Linked DNA regions of Homo sapiens: region 2 is linked to region 1. Evidence: promoter capture Hi-C in human tissues and cell types (Jung and others, 2019). All regions are on one chromosome and are shown on one strand. The core of a region is centred on a gene start or on the middle of the fragment in contact, and the rest is flanking DNA. Distances in the headings are between cores, read along the strand shown.

Region 1 (5,688 bases), core at 1,829-4,328:
AGAGAGATACATTTTCCTCCCTTAGCTTTCCAATTCCTGGAGTTAATAAATAGAAACATATGTTTTTCCTAGAAAATAATACATTTGTTAAAACAGATTCAACCTACTTTCATTTTCTATGTCAGCAAATAGTGAGGAAATAATGTTTTTAGTGTTCTAGGTGATGTACTTTTCTAACATGCTTTTTATTTGTATGAAATAAAAACAGGATTATTTGGAAACAAATAGCTATCCAAAGGCACATAAAATATGTCTCTCATACTTTCCGTATCAGTTTCTGGTGGCAGATGTCAACCTAAGCAGTACATTAGAACCACTTGGGGGCTTTAAAAAATCCGAATGCCAGGACCACACTTAGGGCAATTAATTCAGAATCTCTGAAGCTGGGACCCAGGTACCTTCACTTTGCTTTTTTTTTTTTTTGGTATTTATTTCATTCTATTTTCTGTATAACTTTAAGTACATAAAGATTTATTTCCACAGGATCAGGAAATGGGTAGAAATCACAGGACAATCTCTCTTCCCACCAAAAAAGTTGCGTATTTTGGTAAGTGTTTGTCCTAGAGGGAAAAAACTGAAATTTACATTAGCAGTGCTGTGCAAGATTCTTACATAAATCAAGACCTAAAAGCAGCTTGCAGTGGAGGTTTTGGTCCCCTGTTCAGGTGCTTGGACAGAAGCCATAAGCTGGTGAGTGTGACAGGGAAAAGGAGGCAGTGAAGACAGGTGACAGGCACCTAGCAGGGAAGGAGGATTCAGGAATACCAGACTCCTTGGAATGGAGTGTTGTTTTTCCTTTTTTTTTTTTTCATCTCTGTAGGAAGGTGCTGGGCAGGGATCCCAGAGAAAGAAAGGGTTGAATACTCCTTTAACTGCCCTGGATGAAGGGCACTGCTACAGCAGCTAGTACCGGAGACTCTCCTATCTCATGGTTGAGGCAGACCCAGGATAGAATAGTGAATAAAAGGAATGCTTATAGGAAACAATTTTGCGTGGAATGCTAGATGGCCAAGCCTCAGCCTTTGGTCCAGTGCAATCCTTGCCTCACTTGTCAATAGTGAAAAATTAGTTTGGTTAGAAGAACCATCTGGAAACACACCAGCTTCTGCTACCTTCATGCTCATTGTCAGAAAAAGATTAACCAGTGTGAACGTTCTGATCTGTTAATTCCTGGGACTGTTTTCTTCCCAGTGGACTGTTTGTTGGTAGAATAACCCCCAAAGCTCAAAGCTAAAATGCATCATTAGTCCTCGTCGGCAGTTGAGCTGATTTGGAAAAGCTGCACCTTCCTGCAGAAGATCAACTGACCTGCTATCCCACTGCACATCTGAGGTATATTTCAGTGAAGGCAGGTAGCTGTGCTTTTCAGAGCAGAGAAGCAGTTTTAAGAGCAGAAAGGTAGAGGAAATCTAGAAAAGAACCGTCTTGATACAGATTTATCCCATGGTGTGAAGGGAGGGCAAAGAACCCAGTGGCACTTCGCTTATCCAGCAATTTCTGTCACTGTGGCGACAAACTTCTGCCCATTCCAGAGGGTCTTGAACTGCTCAGGAACTGGGAATTCATTAAAGTCACCGCCTTCTGTAGGAATGAGGACATTCATCTCAGAAGATTTGGCACTGGCTATTTCACAATCCAGGGAATTCTTGCTCAGGTAAGCATGGCAGCCATCTGTTTTGTTGATGGAAATGGTTGGCACTTTACTCATCACCTGAACTTTGACATCCCTACTGTTGATTATCTCCACAATGCCCACCATATCATCGAATACCAGACCAAGTTTCTTACAATTATCTACTGTAATGGAGTTAATTTTGCCCTTGATTTGCAACATCGTGTTGACACACTTGTATATGTAAGCCGCCTGTTTCAGCTCTGTGTCATCAATCACCAGATTGGAAACATTTTCCTGATTTTCCACTCTCCACTTCTTGCCCTCCAGTTCAAGTACAGCTGGCTCCTTCTTTGTGGCTGGTTTGGGGTTTAGGTGCAGAGAATGGCTTGGGGCCACTGCGTACTGGACCACTCTGAGCCTTCAGGGTAGGGTTCTTGTGAGTCTTCATGTCATCAGATACACGTTTCAGGGCATGTGTGATGCTCTCCCCCTGATTAATCTGCGCAAACAGTGCTGAGAGGGAAGCGGACTCATCTGAGCCTGAACTGACAGAGACTAGTGGAGGAGGGGGGCCTGGTGGTGGGGGAGGAGTAGCTGATCCAGCAGAGGGTCCAGATGGCAGTCCACTCAGTTCTTTTGTCACAGGCCCCGTTTTGCTCCAGGCAGTCCGGTGGTATGGAACTCCTTAATGTAAGCCTGCAGCTCTGTGCATATACTTAAATAAGCTTTGACTCAGTCTACATGCTTCTTATCCACATCTTTGTACTCTTTAAGGACTCAGTTTGTATAAAACACAGCAGCATGATTCATTTCTTTCACATAAGGGCCAGGATTGGGAGCCATAGCCACCCAGCCTAGGGCCTGGATACTTTCACTGACAGCTGACAGCTGATTAAACAACTTGCTGCCTCGGTTCTTCTCCCAAAAGGTTATCACTTCTTTGATCTGCTCTGAGATAGGTGCCAACAGATCGGAAAGCTTATTACCTGCCGGCTATTGACACTGAGAAGCTGTAACCAAGAGAGCTCACTCCAACTTCAAAACTGTGTGTACCATCTCCACATCTTTCTGCACGTCTTCCCCAATCTCTTTACTGATCTTCAAGTACTCTGCCACAGGGCAGGCAAGCAGCGAGTCAAATGCCTGCGCATATGGAGCTGCTCCTGCTTTTGAAGGACTATCTCCATATCCACGGTGCATGTCAGAGGTATGGGATACTGCCTCCAGGCGGCCCACTGCCCTGTCCAATTTTTTACCAGATTTTGCATGTCAGTCATAATGTATCACCTCCCGACTGCGATCAGCCGCTCTCCACTTCCCGCACCTTCACTTTTCAAAGATTCCCAGGTGATGCCAACCTGCTCTGCGGATGGAGCCCCTAAGACCCCAAGCGGCCCAGACTACGTTTCCCAGAGGCCTCCGCGGCCTCAGCCACTTCCGCTTCCGGTCCAGCCTGTCTCCGCGTGGTGCGAGCGCTGCACCAGCCCCTGGCTGGTGGTTACTGTCCGAACGGCGTGGTGTGGTCGCTGACTCTCTGGGCGTGCAGCTCCGCAGCCCTGCCGGCTCGGTTCGGTTCGTGAGCGGCCGGGGTCAGGCTGGGTCCCTGAAGCCTCGAGCCCCTGGCGGGTGCTCCCCGCCTTTCCCAGGGGCGGGTCGAGGGGCGAGCCGGGGTGGGAGGGGAAGGCGGCGGTGGGCAGTGCCCACCCGCAGTGGCTGCGCCGTGTGGAGCGACCGCTCGAGGCTGGTGCATCACAGAGCGCTCCAGCCTTGCGCCCCGGCCGACAGATTGGGCCACTGACAAGGCCGTCCCCCGGTGCTGCCAAAAGTGTTTGGCGTGGAGCTGGCTGCAGTCCAGGCCGGATCCCAGCAGCCGTTCCCTTTCCTTTCTTCCCGAGCGTACCCACCTGGACCTGTCTGCCCACCTGTGGAGGGAACGGGCGGGCGGGGACCTGGTCTAGAGGGCAGATTCTAGCTAGGCTAGGGCACGGAGGGACTTCCTCAATTTCCTCTCTTCTTTCCCAGATTGACTTACGCAGGATTCTCAGCCCTTGCCTGGGAGAACAGTTCAGGAGACAGATGGCCCCAAGAGCCCAGATCCAGGCAAGTTTGATTTTTCCATTTCTTGAGAAACCACGTGTTTCAGCGAGGTGGGGTTTATGCCTCTTGCCCGGACAATGCCCTGCCCTGTGTGTGGACAAAGCTACCCGAACCAATCCTGGATGGGTCCCGCGATTTCCGTCCTGTCTACCCATTACGTAGTCATTCACCAAGTAGATTATTGCTACCCATGTTTTCTAGAGTGCTAGAAACAGAAAAGTGCTTTGCAAACTGGCAGACGATGAAAAAAATACACGTTAGCATGTAAAGACGTAGGCCATAAAGACATAGGGTGATAGCAGTGCTCTCTTGACCTTTAGTGTGTGGTAGGGTGGGAGGGGTGGAGTAGTGGGCGCCTTAGTTCTTCCTGAAGAATAAATGAGATTTGCATAATTGCAGAGGATACTAGGGGAAAGCGCTGCCTGAATGAAGTCATTATGGCGGGACCATGAACAAACTGGTCTGAGAAAGTTGGAAACATTCATGGTCTAGAATCCCAGACTGGAGTTTGCTTTTATCCTGGAGAAAACTAGGTTTTGAAGGATTTTGAGAAGCTGATTAAATAATTGGTATTTTGAAAGGAAGTGATAAACATTTGAGTGTCTATTATACAAATAAAATTAAAAAAATTAAAGATCACCTACATTTCTACTGCTCTAAGTCAAGTAATTTCATTTGAAACACACTTTTCATTTTTTTAAGGCTTACTCATTTTTTCTTTTAGTATTTCATAGCCATTCCAATTTGTTCTAGTTTCATTACCACTTTTTGTGGCTTCCTTTTATACTGTGCCTTCAACCAGCCCTGGGACCTTGAGCAAGTTCTTCCAACTCTCTGAACCTTTGTGTCTTTAGCTACGAAATAGATTTTACTTTATATAGTTACGGCAGAAATTTAGAGAGATGATATGTATCTCAGGGTTTAGCACCGTGGCTGGTACATAGTAAGTTGTTACTCTTATGAAAAGCAATTTTTTTTTCTTTTTTAAAAATATTCTGCCCCAGAGTCAGATCATACTCCCTGTAAATTCTCGGATAAAGCTAATCACTTTCCATGTCTTTTCAAAGTTTCTATTCATTTGTTGATTGAATAAAGCTTGAACACTTCTGTGTCAGGCAGTGTTTTTGACTGGGAGGCAGCAGTGACCCACACTGTCCCCCTGGAGCTCACATTAGAGAGGATGCTGACAGTCAGTGCAAACCTCTCCTGCCAGGTGGTGAGAAATCCTGTGAAGAAAAGTGAAATGGGTTTCGAGACTGAGTGGCAGAGGATGGGGTGGAGAAATAGAAGACCTTTTTGATGAGGTGACATGAAGGGTGGAGTGAGCAGAGGCTAGGCCTGGAGGAGGGAGCAGGACAGGCATGCAGGAAGAACCTGCTCAAGGGAGGAGTCGCACATCCCCTGAGCCCTCAGCTTTTACTTGTTGGTTTCCATGAGCACTGTTGGAACTGTCAGAAGCTGGCTTTGACCACCTTGCTTCCTTCTCTTGGGATGCCTCCCTCAGGGGTTCCCGGATGAGCAGAATTGGGTTTGGTTTTGCAGGGACCGCTGACATTTGGGGATGTGGCTGTGGCCTTTACCCGGATTGAGTGGAGACACCTGGATGCTGCTCAGCGGGCCCTGTACAGGGATGTGATGCTGGAGAACTATGGGAATCTGGTGTCTGTGGGTGAGGATGGCTTTCTCCTTGACTCAGGATTGGTCTGCTGGGCAACTTTGTGTTTTCACAGGGTGAATGGTTTGGGGTATTGAAAAAATCTTAAATGATGTGCTTTTTGTTTTGTTTTTCTTAAGTATGGGCTTAGAGGCTGGAGTTTATGCCCCTTACACCCCTCAAGAAAGGTCAGAGCCATACAGAGTTAAGATGGGTAGCTTTGTGGTGCCAACTAGCCCAGTTCTGGAATGTTTCTGTGTCATGATTCATCTGCCTCCCAAAATAGGAGTTTCTCGTCCTCCAGGAGGACCTGGTTTTCTAG
Region 2 (5,688 bases), core at 1,521-4,020, 1.3 Mb after region 1:
AAATTTTAAAGAGCTCAAAAAATGGAAGATACGTTGCATTCATGGATCAGAAAATATAATACCACTAAGATGTCAATTTGCCCTCAAATTGATATAAAGATCAAAAGACCCCCTCCCTGTACCCTAGATTCCTCTCTACCTCCTGGCATCTCCACTTGAATATCTAATACCACTAATATGTCACTTTGCCCCCAAAATGCAAAAAAAAAAAAAAAATGAAACTTCTAGAAGAAAATATAGAGAGAACTATTTGTGAGAAGCTTACTGAGGCGATTCATTCAATGAAATGCCACTCAGCAGTAAAAAGAAATGATCAGTCCCCATATAAGCCCCCAAAGCAGGGAGTAGGGGGGTTTGTAGAAACTGACAAAGTTATTCTGAAAGACAAATGTCCCTAAATAAGAAAAGCTACACATGGCCCAGACACATAAGAGCAACTGAGATTTGACAAAGGTGCAAAGGTAATCCAACGTGGGAAAGATAGTCTATTCCAGTCTATCAAATGGAAACAATTTGATATCCATATGAATCAAAATGAATTAAATTCATATTTTGCAGCACCTACCAAAATTCACTCAAAACAAAACAATGAATCTTCTATAAGCATATATAGGAGGAACTATTTGTGATAAGCTAATGTGGTGATTCATTCAGTGGAATGCTACTCAGCAGTAAAGAGGAATGAACCATCGATACAAGCAACATGGAAAAAAGTCATAATCATTATGCTGACTGAAAGCAGCCAGACAAAAAAAAGGGTTTTTGTTAGATGCTATTTATATAAAATTCGAGCAGACTAAGCTATACTGATGGAAAGCAGATATTTTGTGGAGAGGCTCCCCATGTGCAGAGACGCAATGGGGAGGGCAGAATGGAGGACTAGAAGGGACAGGAGGCAATGTGTGGGGTGACGGATAGGGCCACTATAGTGATTGTGGTGGTGATTTCATAGATGTAGACATATGTCGGAACTTAGATCGTGCACTTTAAACATGTGCAATTTATTCTGTGTTGTTTATACCTAAACAAAGCTGTAAACATTCATAAAGAAGGAAGACAGGAAGGAAGGAGGGAAAGAAGGAAGGAAGGAAGGGAGGGAGGGAGGGAGGGAGGAAGGGAGGGAGGGAGGGGAGACGGAGAGGCAGGGAGGAAGGAAAGGGAGGGACAGAGGAATTTACACCCTTGTGGAAGGAAGGAAGGAGGTAGAAAGGGAGGAAGGGAAGGAGAAAAGGATTCACTCCCTTTTGTCACGTGTTCAGACTCTCAGAAAATATCACTGAGCGTTTTCTCTACAGAAGCTTTCTCCACCTGTCCTTTGGGACACCGTGTGCCTGTAGTTTTCCTCATACTTTCCTGGATGGTCTTTCTCCTTCCCCCAACATTGCCCCAACCTCTCAACTGGCAGCGCCCTAAAACTCAGTCTTCTTTTCTCTAACTCGCCTCCTTTGGTGAGCTCACTGGATTTCATAGCTCTGAATCTCATCTCTACACTGACCACCCTCAAATGTCTCCCTGTAGCTCAGACCTCCTCCCTGAACCCTAGAGTCCTCTCTACCTCTTGGCATCGTTGCTTAAATATCTAGTAGAGATCTCAAACTTGGCATTTTCAAAATTCCCACAAACTATGCTTCCCACTGTCTCCCCATCTTAGTAATTCCCACTGCTCGAGTTAAAAATAGCACACACACAACAAAACCAAAAAAACACAGAATTACCCTTGGCCCCTCTCTTTTTCTCGTTCCCCACTTTCAAATCCTTTGACAAATTTGTCAAGCACATCTTCAAAATTTACCCAAAATCCAACCACTTCTCACCACCTATATAGCTACAGACCCAGCTCAAGCCGGAGTGATTTAGTGTCTGGTCCGATCCCCGCCGCCTTCACCCCTGCCCGTCACTGGCCCTCAATAGAGCAGCTAGAATCTCTCTCACACACCAACTCTTCCAGCTTTTTTTTTTTCCTCTTTTTACAACATTGGCCAGAACCTCAAACACTGTGCCAAACGGAAACAGTTAGAATGGATGTCTTAGTCCATTTGGGCTGCTATAAAAAATACCCTAAATTGGGTGGCTTATAAACAACAGAAATTTATTGTTCACAGTTCTGGAGGCTGGGAATTCCAACATCAAGACACTAAAATATTTGGTGTCTAGTGAGGGCATGCTTTCTGCACACAGTCTCACTGTGTCCTCATACAGTAGAAGGGATGAGGGGGTCTCAGGCCCTAACCCCATTCCTGAGGATTCTGCCCCCATGACCTAATCATCTTCCAAAGGCCGCACCTTTTAATACCATTATCTTGAAATTTTCAATATATGAATTTGGGGAGGCCTCAGACATTCAGACCATAGCATTGGACATCCTTATTTTGTTTGTAATTTCAAAGGAAATGGGTCTTATGTTTCTCCATTAAATATTAGGTTTGTGGTAGGTTTTTTTGAATATAACTTTTGCCAAGTTAGGGAAATTTCCTCCTGTTCCTAGTTTTCTATGCTTTTTTAATCATAAAAGTTGTTGAATTTCATAAAGTACTATTTCTGTATTAATTTTAATTGCCATGTAATTTTTCTTCAGTAGTCTTTTAATATGGCAATATTTTTAACAAAAGATTTTATGACAATTTTTCCAATGATGAGTCACTCTTGTATTCCTAGGTGGCATCCTACTTAATTATAATATATTCTTAACAAAAGATTTGATTCACTTAGCCAAGATTTAGTTTTTCCTTCAATGTTGATATACTAATCAATTGAAGTCTTCTTCTCTTTGTATTTATTGTTCTTATCTGATACTTGAGTTATGAATTACATTAGACTCATAAAATGAGCTACACAACTTTCTCTTCCCATCTTACGGAACCACTTATAAAGATTAGCAATTAACTGTTCCTGAAAATTTAGTAAGATTCATCTATAACCCATCCGGGCTTGGGGATTTGAGGAGGGGAAATCTTTGAATACCACCTTACTTTTCTTAGTAGTTATTAGTTTGTATAACTTTTCTAATATCTTCATCATTAAGCTTTGCCTCTTAGTCTTCCAAAACTGTTTCTATTGAATTCAGTTTTTCAAGTTCATTAAAATATAATTGAATGCACTGTGAGTGTTCAAGTAACAGGAAAATGCTGATCCTTTTAGCTATGTTCACACATTAATCTGGGCTTACTTGAATAGGCCACTCTTCCTCTCAGTTGAAACAGAAAATCGTGTTGTTTGATAACATTGTTTCCCTACATCATTCATGTCCCTAGAATTATGTAGGACAAATAACATTTCCAATAGATTGTGTACCCCACATCCCCCCTTAAAAGTCTATATTGTTTTAATAGAAATTCCCAGAGCCCATGGCTTGCCTGGCTTCTTTCTATGATGAAATGTGGGTGCATCCTTGACAGCCTTCATCATAGCCTTAGTACTGCTCATCACCAAGGGCTGCTGCTATGGCTCCCACATTCTTGGGATGCATCCCTCCCCAGTCAGTGCCTACTGCATTGCTCAAATAATAATGTTGCTATATTGATTACAATTAAACATGTTATCTCTACTGTGTTACAGTAAATCACAGATTCACCAGAGAGAACAGTTACCTAGGACTCCCAGTTAACAGTAATATCTTTCTGGCATACCTCCAGTTTGGGGAATGGCAAGCTGAAACCATAATAACTATTATTCACCGAGCGCCTACAATAAGCCTGACATAAATTGGCACCTGAGATGTGCTACCTAGAAGCTTTATTAAAACCACAGAAGGAAAGCCTTAGTACCTTTGGTTCATTTCTTTTTCTTTTAAAGACAGGGTCTCATTCTGTTGCCCAGGCTGGAGTGCAGTGGTGCAATCATAGCTCCCTGCAGCCTCAACCTCCTGGGCTAAAGCGATCCTCCCACCTCAGCCTCCTGGGTAGCTGGGACCACAGGTGTATGCCACCATGCCCAACATTTTTTTGTATTTTTTGTAGAGATAGGGGTTTCACCATCTTGCCCAGGCTGGTCTTGAACTCCTGGCCTCAAGCCATCTTTCCACCTCAACCTCCCAAAGCATTGGGGTTGCAGGCATGAGCTACCACTCCCGGCTTGCTTCATTGATGAAGAAAATATTGATCACATGGGTTAAGTGACTTGCCTGAGGCCACTTAGAGAGTAAGTTAGAGCAGGGATTCAAATTCGGATCCATCCATTTTTTAACTTCCCACTGAAATCTAGATATTTTTCAATAAAGAATTTTCTAAAGAATAGCCTAAAATCAAATGGTTTCTGCCAAATCAGGTATACCTACAAATTTTTCGGCCCCCAGTTACCATCTTAAGTCCTGGACAGCTATTAAGTGGCATGCCTATGCTGGCTCCTGCCTATTGAAAGCAGTTGTCTGGAGTCTTGCACTGAGAAGGATTGTGCAGCTGAGCTTGGGCTAAATGAGAAATTGCTGAGATTGGATTCTAATGCTGTTTGTATTTATCAGAGTTCTCCAGAAAAACAGAGCCATACGGTATATGTATACATACATATATATATATATATATATATATATATATATATATATATATATATATGAGAAGAGATTAGGAATTGGCTCACACAATCATGGGGGCTGGCAATTTTCAAAGTAAGCTGGCAGGCTGGAAAAGCTGGCAGGAGTTGATGTTGCAGTCTTGAGTTCCAGGACAGTCTGGAGGCAGAATTCCTTCCTCCCCATGGGACCTCGGTCATTTCTCTTAATGCCTTCAGCTGATTAGATGAGGCCTACCCAAATGATGAAGGGTAATCTGCTTCTCTCAAAGTCTACTGATTTAAATGTTTAAAAAATACCTTCACAGCAACTTCTAGACTAGTGTTTGACCAATCAACTGGGCAGCATATCCTAGCCACATTGACACATAAAATTTACCATCACACTATCAAGATCAGGAAGACAATATTCCGTAACAGTGGGTCTCAGACTTCAGCATGAATAGGAAGCCCCTGACGGGCTTGTTAAAGCATGGATTGCTGGGTCCCAGCCCCAGAGCTTCTGATCCAGTAGAGCAGGGCTGTCCCTGTGAGAGTTTCCTGAGATGCCGATGGTGCTGGCCCAAGGCCACACTTTGAAAACGCCCCTGAATGGCGTCATTGCTACATTGCTGAAGTGATTACGCTGAAGCATCATGAACAATCATCATACAATATGTTTCTAATCTACAGTTTCTATATAATAAAAACAATTTGAAAATTTTCTGAATGTCTAAGTTTTCAACAAGAAAAACTTTACTTTTAACCCAGGAAAATATCCACCCAGTCCTTAGCTTCTCATAAGATTATAATAAAAAATTGTCTCAGAATATTATAATAAAAAGTTGTAATCACATACCTTCAATCAATATTCCAAAGTAACAGAGACATGTCACTCACAGAATTAGGAGTTGGGCCACTTGGGTTGGACAAGGTCAGGTCACAATTCTCAATTTGTACAGCTGATCAGAGCCAGATCTCCTGATTCCTGGTGCGTCTCTCCCTCAGGCCTCGGTTTCCACGTCCATAAAATGGGATAGTTTGCTTGTGCTCCCTCCAGACCTGATAATTCTTCTACCCAGGGTTCACATATCTTGACTCAGTTTGAAGCAGAACATTCAGACAGGTAGTACTGTCAGAGAGGAAATGGTCTGCCCTGTAAGGCAGGACTGTGGGTGCGAGAATCTGCGCTGGAGGGCACCAGGT

What was found. Contacts are between HindIII fragments. The study calls those that stand out against the background at their distance.
Region 2: a contact is called between a fragment that was not itself captured here and the fragment with the promoter of ZNF485 in region 1, in 1 of the 25 tissues and cell types used here (dorsolateral prefrontal cortex).

What each region holds. Positions count from the first base shown.
Region 1 is chr10:43,603,360-43,609,047 of GRCh38, forward strand. It overlaps ZNF485 (zinc finger protein 485), which reads left to right and starts at 3,079. Exons shown (of 5, transcript NM_145312.4): 1 at 3,079-3,187; 2 at 3,638-3,715; 3 at 5,255-5,381. The coding sequence starts at 3,692. It also overlaps the pseudogene CAP1P2. RefSeq lists an enhancer at 2,785-2,834 and a silencer at 3,115-3,394. The HindIII fragment of the contact is 5,082 bases long and covers 655-5,688 here.
Region 2 is chr10:44,868,294-44,873,981 of GRCh38, forward strand. All of the region lies in intron 2 of TMEM72-AS1 (TMEM72 antisense RNA 1), which reads right to left. Among named protein-coding and RNA genes, the nearest start is that of TMEM72, 40 kb to the right of the region's middle. The HindIII fragment of the contact is 3,983 bases long and covers 780-4,762 here.